Linked DNA regions of Homo sapiens: regions 1, 2, 3, 4, 5 and 7 are each linked to region 6. The links are contacts of gene promoters, found by promoter capture Hi-C in blood cells and fetal thymus (Javierre and others, 2016). All regions are on one chromosome and are shown on one strand. Each heading gives the region's core, a stretch centred on a gene start or on the middle of the fragment in contact. The rest is flanking DNA. Distances are from core to core; before and after follow the strand shown. Region 1 overlaps TSHR-AS1 (TSHR antisense RNA 1). Region 2 overlaps TSHR (thyroid stimulating hormone receptor). Region 3 overlaps CEP128 (centrosomal protein 128). Region 4 overlaps CEP128 (centrosomal protein 128). Region 5 overlaps TSHR (thyroid stimulating hormone receptor). Region 6 holds the start of TSHR (thyroid stimulating hormone receptor). Region 7 overlaps TSHR (thyroid stimulating hormone receptor).

Region 1 (2,866 bases), core at 331-2,830, 200 kb after region 6:
ATAAACATAATGGGACATAAGCTCCACAAAGGCAGACATTTTTGTCAGTTATATTCACTGGTGCATCCCAAGAGCCTAGAACAATCCCTGGCACATAGTATGTGCTCAATAAATACGTGCTGGATTTGAATTGAATTTCTGATATATTATTTTTCATGTCTATGAAATGTTTAATTGATGCTGAGCCCTTAAAAATGTATCCTCCCCCAAACCAAACATCATATGTTCTCACTTATAAGTGGGAGCTAAGCTATGAGGATGAAAGGCATAATAATGATATAATGAACTTTGGGGACTCAGGGGGAAGGGTTGGGAGGTGGGTGAGGGATTAAAGAGTACACACCAGGTACAGTGTACACTGCTTGAGTGACGGGTACACAAAGATCTCAGAAATCATCACTAAACAACTTTCCCATGAAATCACCACTAAACAACTTTTCCATGCAACCAAACACTACCTGTTCCCCAAAAACTATTGAAATTTTAAAAAAAATGTGTCCTCTCAAATATAATAGCTTACCCCTGGTAGAGCATGAACATTTGACAATTTTCTGTTTTATGATATAGTCATCCTCTGTAGTTAAAAATTAGACATGGCCTTATATAAATTCTTACCGATCATTAAAAAAGAGTCCACTGTCCATCATTTTCTCTGTAAGAAGCCTATTCATTGAGTCATCTATCTTACAGTAAGGAAGCACTTGTGGTTACAAGCTAAAAACTCCTGCAATTCAGTAAAACTCAGTCTCAACTTCCCATTTAAAAGCCCAGAGAACTAGTCATCTACATGCAAGAAAGTGTTTGAATTGAGCATTTGTTTGACTTGTATTCATTTATTGAGTACCTTCTGCAAGCAGAGCATATACATCAGAATTTTTTTAACTGTGTCCCAGACTTTAAAAAAACTTTGAATCTAGAGAGGAAGATATATGTGTCACCACAGTATAAAAATTATTACAGTTTCTGAATGTTACTACAGAGCAGTGTTACTCCATAGAAATCTATCCTAAGCAAAAAGAACAAAGCTGGAGGCATCACACTACCTGACTTCAAATTACACTGCAAGGCTATTATAACCAAAACAGCATAGTACTGGTACATACATAGACACATAGATCAATGGAACAAAATAGAGAATCCAGAAATGAAGCCACATACCAACAATCCAACTTATCTTCAATAATGCTAACAAGAAGTTACACTGGGCAGAGGACTCTCTTTTCAATAAATGGTGCAGGAAAAATTGGATAACCACATGTGGAAGAATGAAACTTGGCCCCTATCTCTCACCCTATAAAAAAAAATTAACTCAAGAAGGATTAAAGACTTAAACATAAAACCTGAAACCATAAAAATCCTAGAAGAACACCTAAGAAAAACTCTTCTAGATATTGGCCTACGCAAAGAATTCATGACTAAGACGTAACAAAAACAGAAAAATGAAACTTAATTAAACTAAAAAGCTTCTGCACAACAAAAGAAATAATCAACAGAGTAAACAGTCTACAGAAAGGGAGAAAATATTTGCAAACTATGCATCCAACAAAGGACTGATACCCAGAACCTACAAGGAAAAACTTAATAAGAAAAAAAGCACTTGTATTACAAACCAAAAACCCCTGCCATTCACCAAAACTCAGTGTCAACTTTCCATTTAAAAGCTCAGAGGTCATTCACATGCAAGAAAAACTGTTAAATTAAGCTTTTTCATTTTTTTTTCTTTTTGTTTTTTGTTTTTGTTTTTTTTTTTTTTGAGACAAGGACTCATTCTGTCACCCACCGCAACCTCCACCTCCCAAGTTTAAGCAATCCTCCCACCTCAACCTCCTGAGTAGCTGGGACTACAGGAGAGCACCATCATGCCCAGCTAATTTTTTGTACTTTTTTGTAGAATGGGGTTTCGCCATGTTGCCCAGGCTGGTCTCAGAACTCCTCGACTCAAGCGATCCGTCCGCAGCAGCCTCTCAAAGTGCTGGAATTACCAGCATAAGCAACCATGGCCTGCCTGAACTGAGCTTTTGTTTGGCTCAGTTCAACAAGAAAAAAACAAATAACTCCATTTAAAAGTGGGCAAAGGATGGCCAGAGACGGTGGCTCACGCCTGTAATCCCAGCACTTTGGGAGACCGAGGCAGGTGGATCACCTGAGGTCGGGAGTTCAAGACCAGCCTCGCCAATATGGTGAAACCCCGTCTCTACTAAAAATACAAAATTAGCCGGGCGTGATGGTGCACATCTGTAATCCCAGCTGCTCCGGAGGCTGAGGCAGGAGAATCTCTTAGAACCTAGGAGGTGGAGATTGCAGTGAGCCAAGATCACACCACTGCACTCCAACCTGGGCAACAAAGGAAGACGCTGTCTCAAAAAAAAAAAAAAGAAAAGAAAAGAAAAGTGGGCAAAGGACATAAACAATGAACAGACATTTCTTCAGACATACAAGCAACCAACAAACATGAAAAATGTTCAACATCACTAATCATCAGAGAAATGCAAATTAAAGCCACAATGAGATACCATCTCACACCAGTCATAATGGCTATTAATTAAAAAATCAAAAAACAGCTGATGTTGCCAAGGATGTGGAGAAAAACAAACGCTTATACATTGTTGGTGGGAATACAGAAAAAGTATGGAGATGTCTCAAAGAACTAAAAGTAGAACTACCATTTGACCCACCAATCCCACTGAGTACCTACTCAAAGGAATAGAAATCATTCTATCAAAAAGATGCCTGCACTCTGTGTTTATCACAGCACTGTTCACAATAGCAAAGGCATGGAATCACCCTAACTGTCCATCAACAAATGATTGGAGAAAGAAAATATGGTATACATGCATCATGGAATACTATGCTGCCCTAAAAAAGA
Region 2 (2,711 bases), core at 174-2,673, 180 kb after region 6:
CTACAGGCACGTGCCACCATACCCGGCTAATTTTTGTGTTTTTAGTAGAGATGGGGTTTCACTATGTTGGCCATGCTGGTCTTGAACTCCTGACCTCGTGATCCGCCCGCCTCAGCCTACCAAAGTGCTGGGATTACAGGCGTGAGCTACCGCACCCAGCAGCACCAAGGGTAATTCTTACCAGCAGACCAGTTTGGAAAATGCTAGATTATATATTTTTTTAATTAAATACAAAACAAAATAGCAACTGCACCAACCCTTTCCTCACAAGAGTAACAGTCCTGTGGTGAGAATGGGGTTAATACATGAGCTTTAAGTTCTGACGGCCTTGAACCTTGAGAATGTAAACCCCAGCTAAGTCCAATTACAACGATGTGGGGGGAGGAAATGGAAAATAATGGAATTCACTAGCTAATTGGATACTATTAATTATATTAAATATTTTAAATGGAATTATCTTCTATGAGGAATATTTTAATTGACAAAATATAAAATAGGAGGGATATTAGGTTAAATATTCATGGCCTTATTCAAGCTATTAATGGTGCCAATAAAAATGATGGAGCAAGACATGGAACCTGGACTCTCTGGGATTCAGAAAAGAGCAGAGAATGCCACACTAATGCCACGAATTCATTCTATTTTAGTAACTAACACTGATGTCTACATGTTCCCAGCCTGACCACCACCCCCCTCACCCCATTGTTCTCAGAAGTGATTTGAATCTGATTTCACATTGTTAATATCAACACTTGAGTTTTCTTTCCAAGAATCAATTTACAGTCTTCTAAAGACACTGGAGTGGCGGGGGATGGGGGGAAATGTTGTCAGTCATGAATTCCCAATGTAACTGGTTATGACTCTGAGGTCTGCATCATTATCAGATTTTCATGATACTGATGTTGATTCATATCAGTGAGCAGTTTATCAGTCCCCAAACTCTAGTCCCCACAGCAGCTGATAGCAAAGTAGTCCCCTTCGTCTCTGTTCTACTTCATTTCTCTTGCCTCTTGAGACCCTTTCATAGTCACATGGTGGCATGTTGCAGAGTAAAATTGACATCTCTCTCTGATTCCAAGAGTTTGCATGTATTGTGATGGATAGAATAAAATGACTGTGGAAATAGCATTTGTACTACTGGATACTGGAATTCCAAGGAGTTCCTATAACACAGGCTTAGAAGCCTAATATCCATCCCTCCTTAGACCAGAAGCTCAGCTTATGTACTCAGTAGAAGAAAGGAGCATATCATCTCCCAATTAACCTCAGGCCTGTTTGAGTTTCTGGCCAAGGCTGAGAAGGCCCTGGCTGCTCACTGCCTCTCTGCATTTTTCTGTTCTCTGCCTCCCAGGGACGTGTCTCAAACCAGTGTCACTGCCCTTCCATCCAAAGGCCTGGAGCACCTGAAGGAACTGATAGCAAGAAACACCTGGACTCTTAAGAAACTTCCACTTTCCTTGAGTTTCCTTCACCTCACACGGGCTGACCTTTCTTACCCAAGCCACTGCTGTGCTTTTAAGAATCAGAAGAAAATCAGAGGGTAAGTGGCAGGGACCCGGCATAAGTGACAAAAGACCTTGGTGGAAGTGGAATTCATTTCTTGGTTTTGGGGAAGATGCTTCCTGGTTTGAAAACCAGGTGGAGAGGAAATTGGAAGCATCCATATGAAACAGGAAATCCATGGGACACAGTGACCCTGCGGACCCAAAGTGGGTGCAGCTGAGAAATAAGGCAATTGCTGCTGGATAGCGGTAGAGCAGAGGAGGTGACAGATGGCACAGGAGAGAGAAACACAACCAGATCTCATAGAATCTTGTAGAGGTTATGTAGATATGATGTCCGGTTTCCAGGTACAATTCAGAATTAGATACTGCAACACATATTAGACCCCAGACACCACAACCATGAGAACAGACTTATAAACAACACAAACAGTTGGGTTACCTGATTGGTTTGGGCCTTGCAAATGTCATAGCTCCCTGGTTACATGCCTGCAGGCTTTGGAGTCAGCTGGGTTTATACCGCAGCTCTGCCATTTTTCAAGCTGTGTTATCCCAGCCTAGTTACTTAACCACTCTGAGTCTTTGGGAATGGAGATCCTAATACTAACATTCATAGCAGTTTTGAGAAGATTAAATGAGAAACTGAATGGAAAACACTGGAATGGAATGGCCTGGAATATTATAAGATCTTCATTAATATTAACTATGATATACAGTATGTGCACATCAGGCTGCTTATGAGCCTGCGAAGGAGGAATTGCCTTCATTTTCTCTCCAGGCTTTCTCTGATTCTTTTACTTTTTTGCTTTTACTCTGCATTATTTCCCCCATTGTGTCTTGTACAATCTCCTGTTCTCCTAATCCACCTTCATCATCTCTATTCAGTCCTCCTCAGCTTCTATGTATTTAGTGATTGACTTACTACACACATAATTGCAGTCAGGAAAATATCAGATCTAGGTGTGAGGGCAGAAGCTAAAACAGCCATACAAAGAAGGCCAATATGGTGGCCGGGCACAGTGGCTCACGCCTGTAATCCCAGCACTTTGGGAGGCTGAGATGGCCAGATCATCTGAGGTCAGGAGTTCGAGACCGGCCAGGCCAACATGGTGAAACCCCGTCTGTACTAAAAATACAAAAAACAAAATTAGCCAGATGTGGTGGTGGGTTCCTGTAATCCCAGCTACTGGAGAGGCTGAGGCAGAAGAA
Region 3 (2,715 bases), core at 165-2,664, 220 kb before region 6:
AGAAAATAAAAGAAGGGGTAACTTCATGTTAAATAACTGATGAGTTTTAATAATGTTCTCAATTTATCAATTAAAATCACTTATTTTAATTATCTCTAATGATCTACACCATTGAACTTCTGAACAAGCTGGTCACAATGTAAAAATAAGATGCTAAGGCCAGGTGCACAGTTTCATGCCTGTAATCCCAGTAACTCAGGAAAACAAGGTCTAGGATTATTTAAGTCCAGGAGTTTGAGACCAGCCTGGGTAACCTAGCAAGACCTCATCTCTATACAAAAATTAAAAAATAAAAACATTAGCCAGGCATGGTGGCATGCACCTGTAATCCCAGCTACTCAGGAGTCTGAGATGGGAGGACTGCTTGAGCCTGAGGGGTCAAGGCCGCAGTGAGCCAAGATGGCGCCACTGCACTCCAGCCTGGGTGACAGAGCAAGACCCCATCTCAATCAATCAATCCGATGATAAATTCAATTTTAAAAAATTAACCAGAGTCCAAATAAATAAATGATATTACATTTAGAAATCATCCCATAAGTTACTTCAGAATGTTTAAATATTACACTCCAATATGGAATAGAAAAAACTTGCTTCTTCCTGTTTTGGGACTAAAGGACACTTCTATGAATATCATGATTCTAAATTATTTCTTCAGTAAGACAAATCTGAAAAACTGTGAAATGATTTGCAGAATAAGTGATAGACGAATGAGTGACTGGATGACTAGAAAAGTAAACCAATATATAAATAATGTATAAGCACAACATAAAGTCTAAACTACATGTTAGAAAAGATACCTACAGTTCGAGAGTCCCTCCGTTATTTCTGTCCCACAAATAAATTATAAGACATTATCCTCTGTTAACAGCAATTGACCACCAACTGTACAAGTAGCATAGAAATTCGAAGGATGAGCAGGGAAAAGCAGAAAAACCAGCTGAAAAGTTTCTCAGAACACTGGGAATGATGAAACCAAAGGAATAAACCATTAAAAAGTTGAGAACACTATTGACAGATCCAAAATCTATCACATTAGATTAAAATCAGATTTTTAGATAGAAAAAATCTAAGTCATACAGTAGTCTCCCCCCTATTTTTAGATAGAAAAAATCTAAGTCATACAGTTTCAATTTGGTTTCAATCACTGCCTGTCAACTGCAGTCCGAAAATAGGTAAGTACAGTATAATAAGACACCTAGTGACAGAGATCACATTCGAGTAACTTTTATTATACTATATTGTTATAATTGTTCTATTTTATTAATTATTATTAATGTTTTATTGTTTATAATTTATAAATTAAGCTTTATCATAGGTTTGTATGTATAGGAAAAAACAGTTCATATAGGGATTGGTACTACCTGCAGTTTCAGGCATCCACTAGGGTGCCTAAGTCTCCACACATAAGGGGAGTCTACTGCATCTCTTTATGCTCACAGCCATGTATATGGCCAGAATAATCAGTGAATAGTGTGCCAGATTCGCCACTAAGGTGGCTCTAATGCTTTGGATATACATCATATGACAAGCTTTATGCTTTGGAAGCAGGTTGCCAAAAATACTGATTTGGCAATCTGGCTTAAACCACTCCTAAGACTTCTACCAACGCAGGTCATGCCAAAGTTTTACATTGCAAATCCAGTGGCTACTTCTCATCCCTTCTCTCCTTTTCTCCAAATACTCATCCTTTCTTTGAGCATATACAAGGGATAGGGAGCTAATGTATCTTTCCTCTACTGCCTACTTCTAGACTATGTATATGTTCATCCTTTTTTTTGAGCTTATATAACACAAAGATTAGACCCAATTACAGATGCTAAGAAGCTACCCATCAAAATAAGAAAACCACTACAAAAATTATTGTGATAAGTGAATCTGCCAAATATACTAGCATATTCAAAACACTAAAAAGATCTTAAAAGAAGAAATCCCTAACTCTTTTGCCCTTGTTCTTTCCAACATTCACTTCTCTACCTTTACTTTTGACCTCATCCACCCGTATCTTCCAGGATCCTGCTATACCAGCTAAACTTCCACCTGTTCGACCTCTCCCATCAACAGCCCCTTCTACTCAACATACATAATCAGGCTCAAGCTTTTCTATGACTAGTAGTACATACAGAATCATACTCTAAAAGTTATAGTCATTCTACTCTTAAAGACTGAGACTATTTTAGACACAAAGTTTTAATATTCTTTTTTTTTGATATTTTGGTATTTTGAATTTTTTTCACGTTACACTAGAGAGTTAAATCATAGTATACAATAGGGCTAGAATTAATACTAACAATGTTATTGTGTCCCTAAATGAATCAGGAAGCTCTTAGAGGATACCGTCACGAAATGAATAAAATATAAACTATTTAAATATTGCTACCATAAAATGTAATACATAACTGAAATATTAGAAAAGACAAATACTGTTACCTAATTCCAGAGTGTCATAAACAATATGTAAACCACTCTAATTAAATTACTTAATCAACTTCTGCCAAATATTTGCTGATTTTTATTTTGGTTATTCAGAGTTTAATAAGTATCCAATAAATTTCAAAACAGGGAAAAATAAATAAATTTGGGCCAATGGCAAGATATCATCTCTGTCTTTCTAAATCTAAACTTTGGGGAAAAACTATGCTTTCTTTTGGAAGAGTGATTTTTTTTTTCACTAAATATTAGTATTATGGCTCCCCTATTAACTGTGCTCCTTTAGTG
Region 4 (2,984 bases), core at 63-2,562, 200 kb before region 6:
TCTTGGGGCCTTCCTGTCCAAATAGAAGTTTCTGACTATCAGTCTCTCTGGTGGAAACTCTTTCAATACTGCCACGAATTTGCCTATCTGGGACACTACATGATCATTTATTCAGATACCAATCCCTGACTACTTTGGCTAGAAAATCCTGGAAATCTCTTTCTCCATTACCCTAGAATATAACATCTCTCATCATGTGTATGCTGTCAACAAAATTACTCCAGTCTGTCCTTTCCTCTGAATGTTTGAACAATTTTCTTAATTCAGACTCTCACTCTATCTCACTGTATGGGAAAAGCTTCTTAACTGGTTTCTCTACCTCAAATCTTACCAACTCTAATCTACCTTTCACCTCACTACCAAAATATAAATATAAGCATGCCATTCTCCTGTTCAAAACTCCTTTGTGATTCTCCATGCAATGTAGATCTGAATCCAGGATCCTCAAAATGGCAAACAATGCTCTACTGGATGAACTTAATCCCTCTGGAGCCCCATCCCCTGCCATTCTCTGTGTCATACCTTCATATTTTACTATTGCTAAATCATTTGAGTGTTCTTTGCATTCATCAAATTGCTTCTGTTCTGTGCCTTTCCTAGAACTTTGTTCTTTGCATGTTTGCTCTTTGCTCTTTACCTGGATGGTTTCAATATTCATCTGGGACATCAGCCTCCATGGCAGCTTCTGCATACTTCTATTACAGCTCCTGCTTGTAAGACTGAAATTATCTGCATATTGTCTGTCTTTCCTAAAGACCAGGACAATGTCCTGTTCTTTTTTTTTTTTTTTTTTTTTTGAGATGGAGTCTTGCTCTGTCACCAGAATGGGGTGCAGTGGCACAATCTTGGCTCACTGCAACCTCTGCCTCCTGGGTTCAAGCAATTTGCCTGCCTCAGCCTCCCGAGTAGCTGGGACTGCAGGCACGTGCCACCATGACCGGCTAATTTTTTGTATTTTTAGTAGAGACAGGGGTTCACCGTGTTAGCTAGGATGGTCTCAATCTCCTGACCTCATGATTCCCCCTACCTCGGCCTCCAAAAGTGCCGGAATTACAGGCGTGAGCCACTGTGCCCGGACGTCTTGTTCATTTTTTATGCCCACAGCATGTAACAGCATCTGAGACGTAGTAGTTTCTCAGTAAATTCCATTAAGCTGAAGAAAACATGGCCTTACCATACCTTGTTAGAACTTGTTACAAAAACATACCCCTCATCTACGGAAACTGCTTACCTGGCATTCCTTAATGACCATGTGATGGTTAACACTGAGTGCCAAACTGATTAGACTGAAGGATACAAAGTATTGAGCCTGGGTGTGTCTGTGAGGGTGTTTCCAAAGGAGATTAACATTTGAGTCAGTGGGCTGGGAAAGGCAGACTCACCCTTAATCTGGGTGGGCACAATCTAATCAGCTGCCAGTGTGGCTGAAATATAAGGAGGCAGAAAAATATGAAAAGACAGACTGGTCGAGCCTCCCAGCCTACATTTTTCTCCCATGCTGGATGCTTCCTGCCCTTGAACATTGGACTCCAAGTTTTTCAGTTTTGTAACTTGGACTGGCTCTCCTTGCTCCTCAGCCTGCAGATGGCCTATTGTGGAACCTTGTGATCATGTGAGTAAATACTTATAAACTCCCCTTTAAAAATAGATCTATTCCATTAGTTCTGTCCCACTGGAGAACCCTGACTAATACAGACCATCTCAACCCTCTTCCTTCCTGTAATTTCTTATTATTACCATTCATTAGCTATTTTACCTGTAAGTATAGTCCAACTCTCAATTGGACTTCATAATTTTATTATGCCACCAGTGCCAACAAAGCAACTGTGTGCAATCCCCACCCAATCCTTGTTTTCTAGAATTAACACTAACAGAACAAATTCATTTGGTAGATTTATGAAAACAATTACTGAATGCCCTCAGAGGTCCTTCTAATACTGCAAGACGTCAGAATGGACTATCTGAAGAGCAATTCTACTTTCCATATAGTTTTTTGTCCTCTGATTTCAGATCTTATCTTCAATACTTATAGAGCTGTCCAGTCATAGTTCATGGGAATTATAGTACTGTAGCCCATCAATAACCTAACCCATCTTTCTAGCAAATAGATTCAATTCCCCCTTAGTCAGTTGGTCAGTGTGGTATTTTTCATCACAACCCGTTTACACTGTAGAAGGAACAGTTGTCTCATGCAGTAATAGAAGGGGTCTGATCAGAAGTTCAATCCCATTAAATGATAAGGGAAAACTGCTCACAAGCTCCCAAATTAAAGAGCTATGATTAAGAATCATCTGTGGCTCTCATAGTTTAACTGAACTACTGCAGTGAAAGCTTTCTGTTCAGAAATGATAAAGATTTTAACTTGAAAGAAAATTCTAAGTACATTGCTCTTGTTGTCAGAATTGTAAAGCTGAGGAAAAGAAAAATGAGAAACGCAATATTAATGCACAACAGAAATTTCTGGCCAAAACATTCTGAGACAGCAAAACGTGTATTCTAAATTCCCTATTCAGGTGGCATAAATACAAATTTGTATTTGTTTCTATCAAAAATGGCTAGAAATGCACAGGTTCACTGTTGTTAAAGTCTAATGCTCAATCACTATACTTTCATTTTCTTGTTAAGAATGCTTTGTTTTAGGAGGCTTCTCTAATGCATAGTTGGCCTTCAAAGGTAAACTTTATCTTTCCATCACCTCCCACCCATGTCTTACTCACCAATCTCAGGGCATTATCTGTGGTTACTCAAATATTCTCATCTTCATGTCATTGTTCTACCCAAAACTAACTAACTGGAGAACTACATATTTTTGCAAGGCCAAGTTTAAATATTGCTTTTTTCCAGAAGCTGTCTATGACATGCTGGTAGCATCATACCCTCCCTTTCTCCCAGCACAAACAATAGAATTAGCTCTTCCTTCTTCTGTGTTCCTTTGTCAATGTTCACATATATCTATAATCTGGTTCTTAATATTTCAACAGTTT
Region 5 (2,700 bases), core at 17-2,516, 140 kb after region 6:
GTTTGTGTGTTTTTGTTTTTAAATGGAAGAAATTATGCAATGTTTCTTTGCCAATGGGAATGGTTGAATAGAAGGAATATTTGATGATAACTATGATACCTTATTTTTCATAGAGTTTTAATAGTTTTTTAAACACTTTCCCACACATGACATTTGCTCCTCTCAGCCACCTTATAAGGTGTAAAACAAAGTTACTGCTTTTCCATTTATGAATGAGGAAACTGAGGAATAGAAACCTCAAGTGATTTTGTCTGAGCAGTGTCTCAAGGAACAGTCAGAAGTGGTACTCAAATTACTGCCTGTGACCTTTGATTGGCACCCATGTGCCCTTTTTCAAAGCTGGTGACATGGGTCAGTTGTCTTACTAATTGTATAGGAATGAAAGGACGTAAGGCAGAGAGAATTACAAGTTGAGTTTGCATTAAAGAGTCAGCAAAATGTAGAATGATAAGCTTCAAACTCTTGGGGTTTTGCTAGAAAAAAAAATTGATCATACTTCTTTGTTGCAAAAGAGCTCAGTTCAAAATGTAAGCAATCTTCCAGAAACTAGAATGGCGTAGAAAGGTTCTCCAGGAGCCTGGCGAAGTTTGGCAAGTGAAGGACATTTTAGAAATACTCATTAAATGAAATCCTTTAATCCTTTTATCCTGACCTTCTTAAAGGTCCATGCATGTAGAAAACTCTAGTTGTTGTGGACAAAGTGTTGCAGATTCGGGAGAAGCCTCTCAAATCCATCTGCCTACCCCAAGATGAGGATTAAGTCAGGGACCTCCACCCACACCTAAAGCTCTCACTTACCCCACATTTGGGCTCCAGGTGCATGTCATCTAGGACAGCTCTCACCACCTCACCAGACCTCTGAGCCACTAGCGGTTAAGAAGGGTCAGTGAAACTTAAAAAGAAATAAGATTAAGCTATATTGTGTCCTGTTATTTAAGTGCATATGCGCAGCAAGACCCCTGCTGCAGAAGGAAAGCATTTTTTCATTAAGTGTTTTTGTCCCTCTCTCTTGCAGTGAAATTACAGACAACCCTTACATGACGTCAATCCCTGTGAATGCTTTTCAGGGACTATGCAATGAAACCTTGACACTGTGAGTATTACCAGTTCTACTCCCTCCATCAACTAAATTCTATTTTGAGCCATTTTCATATGTTTACAGACCATCCAAGAGCCATACTGCCTTATCATATATACTCTATAGAGTACAAAGTGTTTTACACAATTAAATAATAGTATTGTCTTATGGGATGGTACTCTGTAGACTACAAAACAGTTTAGGTAACAAGACAAGAGGATTCCATTACGGCAGTGGTTGGTACATTTTTCACGTGAAGAACCAGTTAGGCATTACAGACCATGCAACCTCTGTAGGAACTGGTCAACTCTGGCATTGTGTGGCAAAAACCGCAGTACTCAATATATACACTAATGAGCATGTCTGTGTTCCAATAAAACTTTATTTATAGAAAGAGGCAGTGGACTAGATTTGGCCTGCAGGCCTTATGGAATAATCATCTGTATCCAAGTGTCCCCATTCTACAGAAGAAGAACTGGGGTTTAAGCAAATTGAAGTGACTTACCCAAGATCACTGAGTTAAAAAAAAGTGGTGCCACTAAGAACTTTATAAATTCTGCACTCACACTTTTACTCAGTAATCACAAACTGTTATTAAGCTCCTGTAAGGGGATATTACATAGAAAGCATAGTGCTGCTATAGGTCAGCATTTTTCCAGAGCCTGAATGGGGGCAAAGCCCTTTAGATGGTCAAAAGTAGATGCTTAATTAGGGATATTCACAAAATGTTCTAAAGGAGAAGATCTAATAGAGGTATAAAGGATAAGTTAATTCTCCAAGCTGGTAGAAAGTTCCTCTCTCATTGTGTAAGTCACAAAGTAGAGTTGGAGCTACCTCTGCAGGGTCTCCTCTCTATTTTCAGGACCACTGCCCAAGTTCAAGCCTGGTGAAGTTTTTGTCTGGATTGTCACCCCAGTTTCATTTCTCTGCTCACACTAAAGTTGGGGTGGAGGTCTTTATCAGATACAAACCTGATCAAATTACTCACCAGAAAAATGGATCCAAGCTTCATACAGTTCTTCTAAGGGGCTATTTTCTGAGCCATTCCTAGTTTATCAGTTTGGGCCCAATGAAGTTACCTCAACTTCTGAGAGCAATGGAGCATTTCAGATGATCCTTCTCATCACAACCTGGTGAGCGGTCCCTTGAAAAGACAAAGGAGGCTCCTTCTCAGTCATAATTTCTTCTTACCATGCAGAAAAGGCCCAGGCTCTTAGCCTGCTCAGCTCCAAACTTCAAAGCCATTTACTTCCTCAGTAAAGCTTTCCATTGCGCCATATAGTGCTCATCATAAGGAAACTCCTACATGCTAAACTTCTTTATAGAATATTACCTCTACCCCTTGACACCATTTCTCTAAAACCCCCATATCTCAAGCACCCCCCTCAAGTGAAAGCTCATTGTCCCACACCTAGCATAGAGCCCAGCATGTGTTTCTAGAAACATCTGAGTGAGGGAAGCCCATATTTCCTAAAATATAGAGGAGAGGATGGCATGGATTATTCATGATCTTTTCAGATGATTATTTCTACATTTTGGCAAAAGTCCTTGCTTCTTCGAAGCTCAGGCTCAAAAAACTATCAACTTGAAAAGACACATGTTCCAACAACCGACTTTGTACC
Region 6 (2,700 bases), core at 104-2,603:
TCAAAAGAAAAAAAAAAAGAAAAGAAAATTTGTGCATGTTGTATCAGCAGTTCATTCATTTTTATTGCAGAATAGTATTCCAATGTGGAGGTATCAGAGTTTGTTTATCCATTATCTAGTCGCGAGACACTTGGTTCGTTTAGTGGTTATGAATAAAGCTTCTGTAAAATTTGGAATACACATATTTTAAATGTACGGTTTAATGAATTTTGATAAATGTATACATCCACTTAACCTCCAGCCTAATTACGATATGGAAACCCTGTGTGTTCCCTCCTGTCTTTTTCTAGTCAATCTTTCCTAACCTTTATTCTGATTCCCATAACCACAACTTTTTCCTTCCTGTCCTAGCCAAGTTCATATAAAAGGAATTATGCAGTATAGAAGGAATTGACATTCCTTTTATCCCAAGAGGAATAAGTGATTGAAGACTTTTAAGAAGGAAATAGGCACAATCTGATTTATGTTTGTAATGATCTTTTTGGCTACTGTGCGAAGAATGGTGAGTATGCCACTTAAGTATTATTTTTCTTCCCATCTTCCAGGGGGAATATGACTCAATGAAATTCTTGGGTCGACCAGAATTTCCATACTGGACCCATTATTAAGGGAACCTGGAATTATTTCTGCCATTCCCGATTCTTCCCAGCAGATGGCCCCAAAGTTCAGTTCCTGAATTGCCTCGCGGAGCCGCGGGCTGCAACGTGAGGCGGCCGCTGCCAGTCGACTCAACCACCGGAGTGGCCCCTGCAGTTGGATAGCAACGAGAATCCTCCAGGGGTGCAGGGCGACGGCTTCGGCCGCACCGCGGGCTAGCCAGGGCTGCGTGCCCGCCTCTGACCCTCAGCAGAGGTGTCTCTGGCCAGGAGGAGCTGAAGTTCTGCAGGACATTGGTCCGCCCGCGGACAGTCCACTCCGCGGGGACTTTCTCTGGATAAGGAGTGCGTGCGAGTGGCTCCCAGGCAGACAGGGTGTCTAGAAGGCTACACGCTAGGGAAGGTGGCTCCTTGGATTTAAAGAGGAGGAAAGGAGGGGGCATCTAAACTAGGCTTTGGAGAGAACTAATGGGAGGGGCGCCCGGGGTGGGGGGGCGGGCTGGAAAACAGAGGGGACAGCCAGGACTGGTGTTGGGTGTCAGGGAACAGACGGAGCGGACTGCGTGGGTCCAGCCAAGGAAAGTGAAGCAAGCAGACTTGTTTGGGTCAAGGTTGCCTAGGGAAGCGGAGCACTTAAGTGCCTCTTTTTCCCCTTCTCCAGCCTCCTCCACAGTGGTGAGGTCACAGCCCCTTGGAGCCCTCCCTCTTCCCACCCCTCCCGCTCCCGGGTCTCCTTTGGCCTGGGGTAACCCGAGGTGCAGAGCTGAGAATGAGGCGATTTCGGAGGATGGAGAAATAGCCCCGAGTCCCGTGGAAAATGAGGCCGGCGGACTTGCTGCAGCTGGTGCTGCTGCTCGACCTGCCCAGGGACCTGGGCGGAATGGGGTGTTCGTCTCCACCCTGCGAGTGCCATCAGGAGGAGGACTTCAGAGTCACCTGCAAGGATATTCAACGCATCCCCAGCTTACCGCCCAGTACGCAGACTCTGTGAGTACCCGGGAGAGATCAGGGTAGGACCCAGAGATCAAGGGCATCTGCAGAGGTGGCCCGAAGTGCACAAAAGCAGCTCAATAACAGCCCGAAGTAGTGTGTGAGTGTGTGTATGTGTGAGTGAATGTCTGTGTGTGTAGATGTGTGTGTGTGCTAAAAACTTAATCGCCCACACTTGGGAAGGTATCATTGTTGACATCCTCATTCCCAACACAGGAAAATGTTACAAAACTTTGGTGTACAATGACCGTGAGAGCTGTTCTTTCCAACAAGCTGCTATTCAGCACTTTGCCTAACCCTGGTTGAATCTGTTTTATTTGAATTAATAAGGATAATGGCATCTCAGGAACTGACCTTTTTGATCTTACCTTGGGTAATAAAAAATTGCAAAAATATGTATTTCTCCTTTTTGTTTCTCTAGATGGGAGGTTATCTTAGCAGTTCTGCTGATTCATCAAATTGTTGACAAAGGTTTAAGCAGGGGCCCTTTTTAAAATGAACTGTCTATACAGTATCTGTAAGTTACTTACTCAAATGTGAACTGCCAGTGAAATAGTACGTCCAGAACCCTGCTTTGTGATAGAGGTATAAAGAAATGAAATTTCATAAAAGTATAGTACATTTATCTGCATGTTAAATGTTACCAGATTAGAAACCTGATGTTAAATAAGATTATACACACACAACCTGTTTCTTAACAGCAATTTAAATCAGTGATCATTGAAATTGTAGACAAAACCAAGGGAATAAAGTCTGTCTTGATTAGTTAAAAAGAGAACAGAAAGAAAGGACAGTAAAACAACCTAGGCTGGTTAAATCCAGTTAAGATAAAAAAAAATGCAGGTTATTAAAGAAAATGTTGATAGATGAAAAGAAATGGGAAAGTTGCACCTCTAGATTTTCTCAAGAATTTAGCTCATGAAGACTATTTAACAGTAGATGAATATTTGAGCACAGAGATATATTTCTGTGCTCAGAGATATCCTAGTGTCTTAGCACACCTGAATTAATTAGTTCAATAACCTCCAAACAGTGTGGTAGTCATTCTCCATGCTGCCACCACAGAATAAGATGTGTAAAAGGTGTAATGGCCTCTTGATTACACCTCTACATA
Region 7 (2,740 bases), core at 36-2,535, 170 kb after region 6:
TGGTAATGCCCACCAGCCAATAAGCTTCCACACACAGAGCTTCCCATAGGCCTCCCTTACAAACAAGAACAGACATCCAAGAACCAGCAGACCTTCGAGGAAATCCATTGACATGAAAAACGTCAATGTCTTAGAGTTTTCAGTGTACAGATCTTTCACCTCCTTGGTTTAAATTTATTCCTAGTTTTTGTTTTGTTTTGATGCCATTATAAATGGGATTGTTTTCTTTGTTTCTTTTTCTGATAGCTTATTGTTTGTTTATAGAAACACAACTGATTTTTGTAGGTTGACTTTGTATCCTGTAACTTTACTGAATTCATTTCTTAGTTCTAACAGGTTTTTGGTGGAGGCTTTCTGATTTTCTGTATAAGATAATGTCATCCGCACTCAGAAACAGTTTCTCTTCTTTCTTTAGGATTTGGATGCCGTTTATTTGTATTGCCTAATTGTTCTAACTAGGACTTCCAGTACTATGTTGAATAGATGTGGTGACATGAAAAACAAGGACTAAAATAAACAGAAAAAGGAACTTGGAAGGAACAGAAACAATGCAAGAACCAGAAGAAAACTTTCATGAAAGTTATAACAAATATCCTCAGAGAGACAATGTTTTACATGTGCAAAACAATTCCTTATACAGGAATATTCAGAAAACAATAAAAGAGCTTTTGAAAATTAAAAACATGAAAGCCAAAACCAAAAAAGTAAGCAGAAGTTGTTAAAGATAAAGGGAAAAATGGCACTCAGTAGAGACAGCAAAAAAATATGAAATAGAGGAAAGAAAAAACATGAACATTAGAAATTCAAGCCACGAGGTCCACAACCCAACTAACAAAAGTTTTAGGAAGAGAAAACAAAAACTGAAAAATAGTGTAGCAGATTTCCCATTAATAAAGAAAATGAATTTTCAGAATAAAAAGACCCACGGAGAACCCATATGGCAAAAAAAAAGGGTGGGGAGGCATGAAGGTACATCATAAAACATGAAATCAATGGGATAAAAATAATAAATTAAAGGCGTCTAGACAGAGAAATCATGTGGCCTGTGCAGGTGGGAGAATCGGAATGCCCTCAGCCTTCTCAATGGCGACATTGAAGAAGACCATAGATAGAATACACCTGTTGAATTCTGAAGGGAAAGTCATTTCCAAACTACCAATCAAGTATGATTGATAAAATAAAGATATTTTCTCACATGCAAAATCTCAAAACCTTGATTTCCTGTTCACCTTTTCTTGGAGAATAAACCAGGAAAAAGAAAAATGAGGACTTTGTTAAAACAGTGATCAACACAGGAAAGAAGCAAATAGAATCCCCAGGATGACCACAAAGGGAGGTCTGAGGAATCTTGGGAACATGATGTCTACATCAGAGCTGAAGAATGAAGACTCCAAGAGGAAGGTCTTCTAGAAATAAAAGAGGGTTGGCTGGGCACGGTGTATCATGCCTGTAATCCCAGCACTCTGGAAGACAGAAGCAGGCGGATCACTTGAGGTCGGGAGTTTGAGGTCGGCTTAGCCAACATGGTGAAACTCCATCTCTACTAAAAATACAAAAATTAGCCAGGCATGTTGGTGCATAATTGTAGTCCCAGCTACTTGGGAGGCTGAGGTAGGAGAATCGTTTGAACCCAGGAGGCGGAGGCTGCAAGTGAGCCGAGATTGCACCACTGCACTCCAGCCTGGGAGACAGAGCAAGACTCTGTCTCAAAAAAATAAAAGGATTGATAGATTATTTGATGGAATTCATTGTGTGAAAAACTGGTTTGAGATGTGTTTTCTTTTCCTTTTTTTTTTTTTTTTTTTTTTTTTTTTTTTTTTTTTTTTTGAGACGAAGTCTTGCTCTGTCACCCAGGCTGGAGTGCAATGGTGCGATCTCAGCTCACTGCAATCTCCACCTCCCGGGTTCAAGCAATTCTCCTGCCTCAGCCTCCCAAGTAGCTGGGATTACAGGTGCCAACACCATACCTGGCTAATTTTTGTATTTTTAGTAGAGATGGGGTTTCACCATGTTGGCCAGGCTGGTCTCGAACTCTTGACCTCAGGCGATCCACCTGCCTAGGCCTACCAAAGTTCTGGGATTATAGGTGTGAGCCACCGCTCCTGGCCTTGAGAGGTGTTTTAAAGAACATTGGAGCATGTAGAAAACTTAGCAAGAGGTTTGTTCAAACAAAGACACCCAAATAAAAAGAGAGAGACAGATGGACATCTTATGAAAAAAAAAACAAACAGTTACATGACAAAGGAAATGAAAGCGCAATATGCAAAGTTGCAATAACCACAGTACTGAATATGGGTTTAACCAAATATGTCACAAAACTATTTCAGGAGAGTAGAAGAGTGTGTCAGGAGAGGAAATGTGTAGGGGTGAGGGATGATAAAAGAAAGCCAAATCCTCATCTTCTATAGTAGAGAGTTAGCGGATAAAACCTAAAAACAATACATCAAGAAATACTTACACTTATGGAAGGAAATACCAGAAGTTAAAAGGGGTTACTTCTGGGACATCAGACACCAGACTGCAGGGAAGGGCTGCCTCTTGTATTAACAAGCTTCCAGTATAATTTGCTTTTTAAAAATAGGTCCATGCATTATTTTAATAAAAATTAGGCTGGGCGTGGTGGCTCAGGCCTGTAATCCCAGCACTTTGGGAGGCTGAGGCGGTGTGGATCACTTGAGGTCAGGAGTTCAAGACCAGCCTGGCCTACATGGTGAAACGCCGTCTCTACTGAAAAATACAA

Evidence for each region. Contacts are between HindIII fragments. The CHiCAGO score rates a contact against its expected background, and 5 or more counts as called.
Region 1: a contact is called between a fragment that was not itself captured here and the fragment with the promoter of TSHR in region 6, in 16 of 17 cell types (fetal thymus, naive CD4 T cells, total CD8 T cells and 13 more). The highest score is 24.7, in fetal thymus.
Region 2: a contact is called between a fragment that was not itself captured here and the fragment with the promoter of TSHR in region 6, in 5 of 17 cell types (naive CD8 T cells, non-activated CD4 T cells, activated CD4 T cells and 2 more). The highest score is 5.6, in naive CD8 T cells.
Region 3: a fragment that was not itself captured here is called in contact with the fragment with the promoter of TSHR in region 6 in 1 of 17 cell types (total CD8 T cells); the score reaches 5.6 in total CD8 T cells.
Region 4: a fragment that was not itself captured here is called in contact with the fragment with the promoter of TSHR in region 6 in 1 of 17 cell types (fetal thymus); the score reaches 5.2 in fetal thymus.
Region 5: a contact is called between a fragment that was not itself captured here and the fragment with the promoter of TSHR in region 6, in 1 of 17 cell types (fetal thymus). The highest score is 7.1, in fetal thymus.
Region 7: a contact is called between a fragment that was not itself captured here and the fragment with the promoter of TSHR in region 6, in 7 of 17 cell types (monocytes, fetal thymus, naive B cells and 4 more). The highest score is 7.3, in monocytes.

The regions. Positions count from the first base shown.
Region 1 is chr14:81,156,916-81,159,781 of GRCh38, forward strand. All of the region lies in intron 2 of TSHR-AS1 (TSHR antisense RNA 1), which reads right to left. Among named protein-coding and RNA genes, the nearest start is that of TSHR-AS1, 12 kb to the right of the region's middle. The HindIII fragment of the contact is 239 bases long and covers 1,462-1,700 here.
Region 2 is chr14:81,138,328-81,141,038 of GRCh38, forward strand. TSHR (thyroid stimulating hormone receptor) reads left to right here. Exons shown (of 10, transcript NM_000369.5): 9 at 1,352-1,540. The region is part of intron 2 of TSHR-AS1 (TSHR antisense RNA 1); the gene reads right to left. Among named protein-coding and RNA genes, the nearest start is that of TSHR-AS1, 31 kb to the right of the region's middle. The HindIII fragment of the contact is 6,888 bases long and covers 1-2,711 here.
Region 3 is chr14:80,737,443-80,740,157 of GRCh38, forward strand. All of the region lies in intron 19 of CEP128 (centrosomal protein 128), which reads right to left. Among named protein-coding and RNA genes, the nearest start is that of CEP128, 200 kb to the right of the region's middle. The HindIII fragment of the contact is 225 bases long and covers 1,303-1,527 here.
Region 4 is chr14:80,753,685-80,756,668 of GRCh38, forward strand. All of the region lies in intron 18 of CEP128 (centrosomal protein 128), which reads right to left. Among named protein-coding and RNA genes, the nearest start is that of CEP128, 190 kb to the right of the region's middle. The HindIII fragment of the contact is 2,033 bases long and covers 297-2,329 here.
Region 5 is chr14:81,091,516-81,094,215 of GRCh38, forward strand. TSHR (thyroid stimulating hormone receptor) reads left to right here. Exons shown (of 10, transcript NM_000369.5): 6 at 1,016-1,093. TSHR-AS1 (TSHR antisense RNA 1) reads right to left here. Exons shown (of 9, transcript XR_007064290.1): 4 at 2,700; 5 at 2,067-2,222. Among named protein-coding and RNA genes, the nearest start is that of TSHR-AS1, 78 kb to the right of the region's middle. The HindIII fragment of the contact is 1,632 bases long and covers 451-2,082 here.
Region 6 is chr14:80,954,268-80,956,967 of GRCh38, forward strand. It overlaps TSHR (thyroid stimulating hormone receptor), which reads left to right and starts at 1,354. Exons shown (of 10, transcript NM_000369.5): 1 at 1,354-1,583. The coding sequence starts at 1,414. It also overlaps a transcript of CEP128 not described here. The HindIII fragment of the contact is 2,816 bases long and covers 157-2,700 here.
Region 7 is chr14:81,120,235-81,122,974 of GRCh38, forward strand. The region is part of intron 8 of TSHR (thyroid stimulating hormone receptor); the gene reads left to right. All of the region lies in intron 2 of TSHR-AS1 (TSHR antisense RNA 1), which reads right to left. Among named protein-coding and RNA genes, the nearest start is that of TSHR-AS1, 49 kb to the right of the region's middle. The HindIII fragment of the contact is 2,527 bases long and covers 23-2,549 here.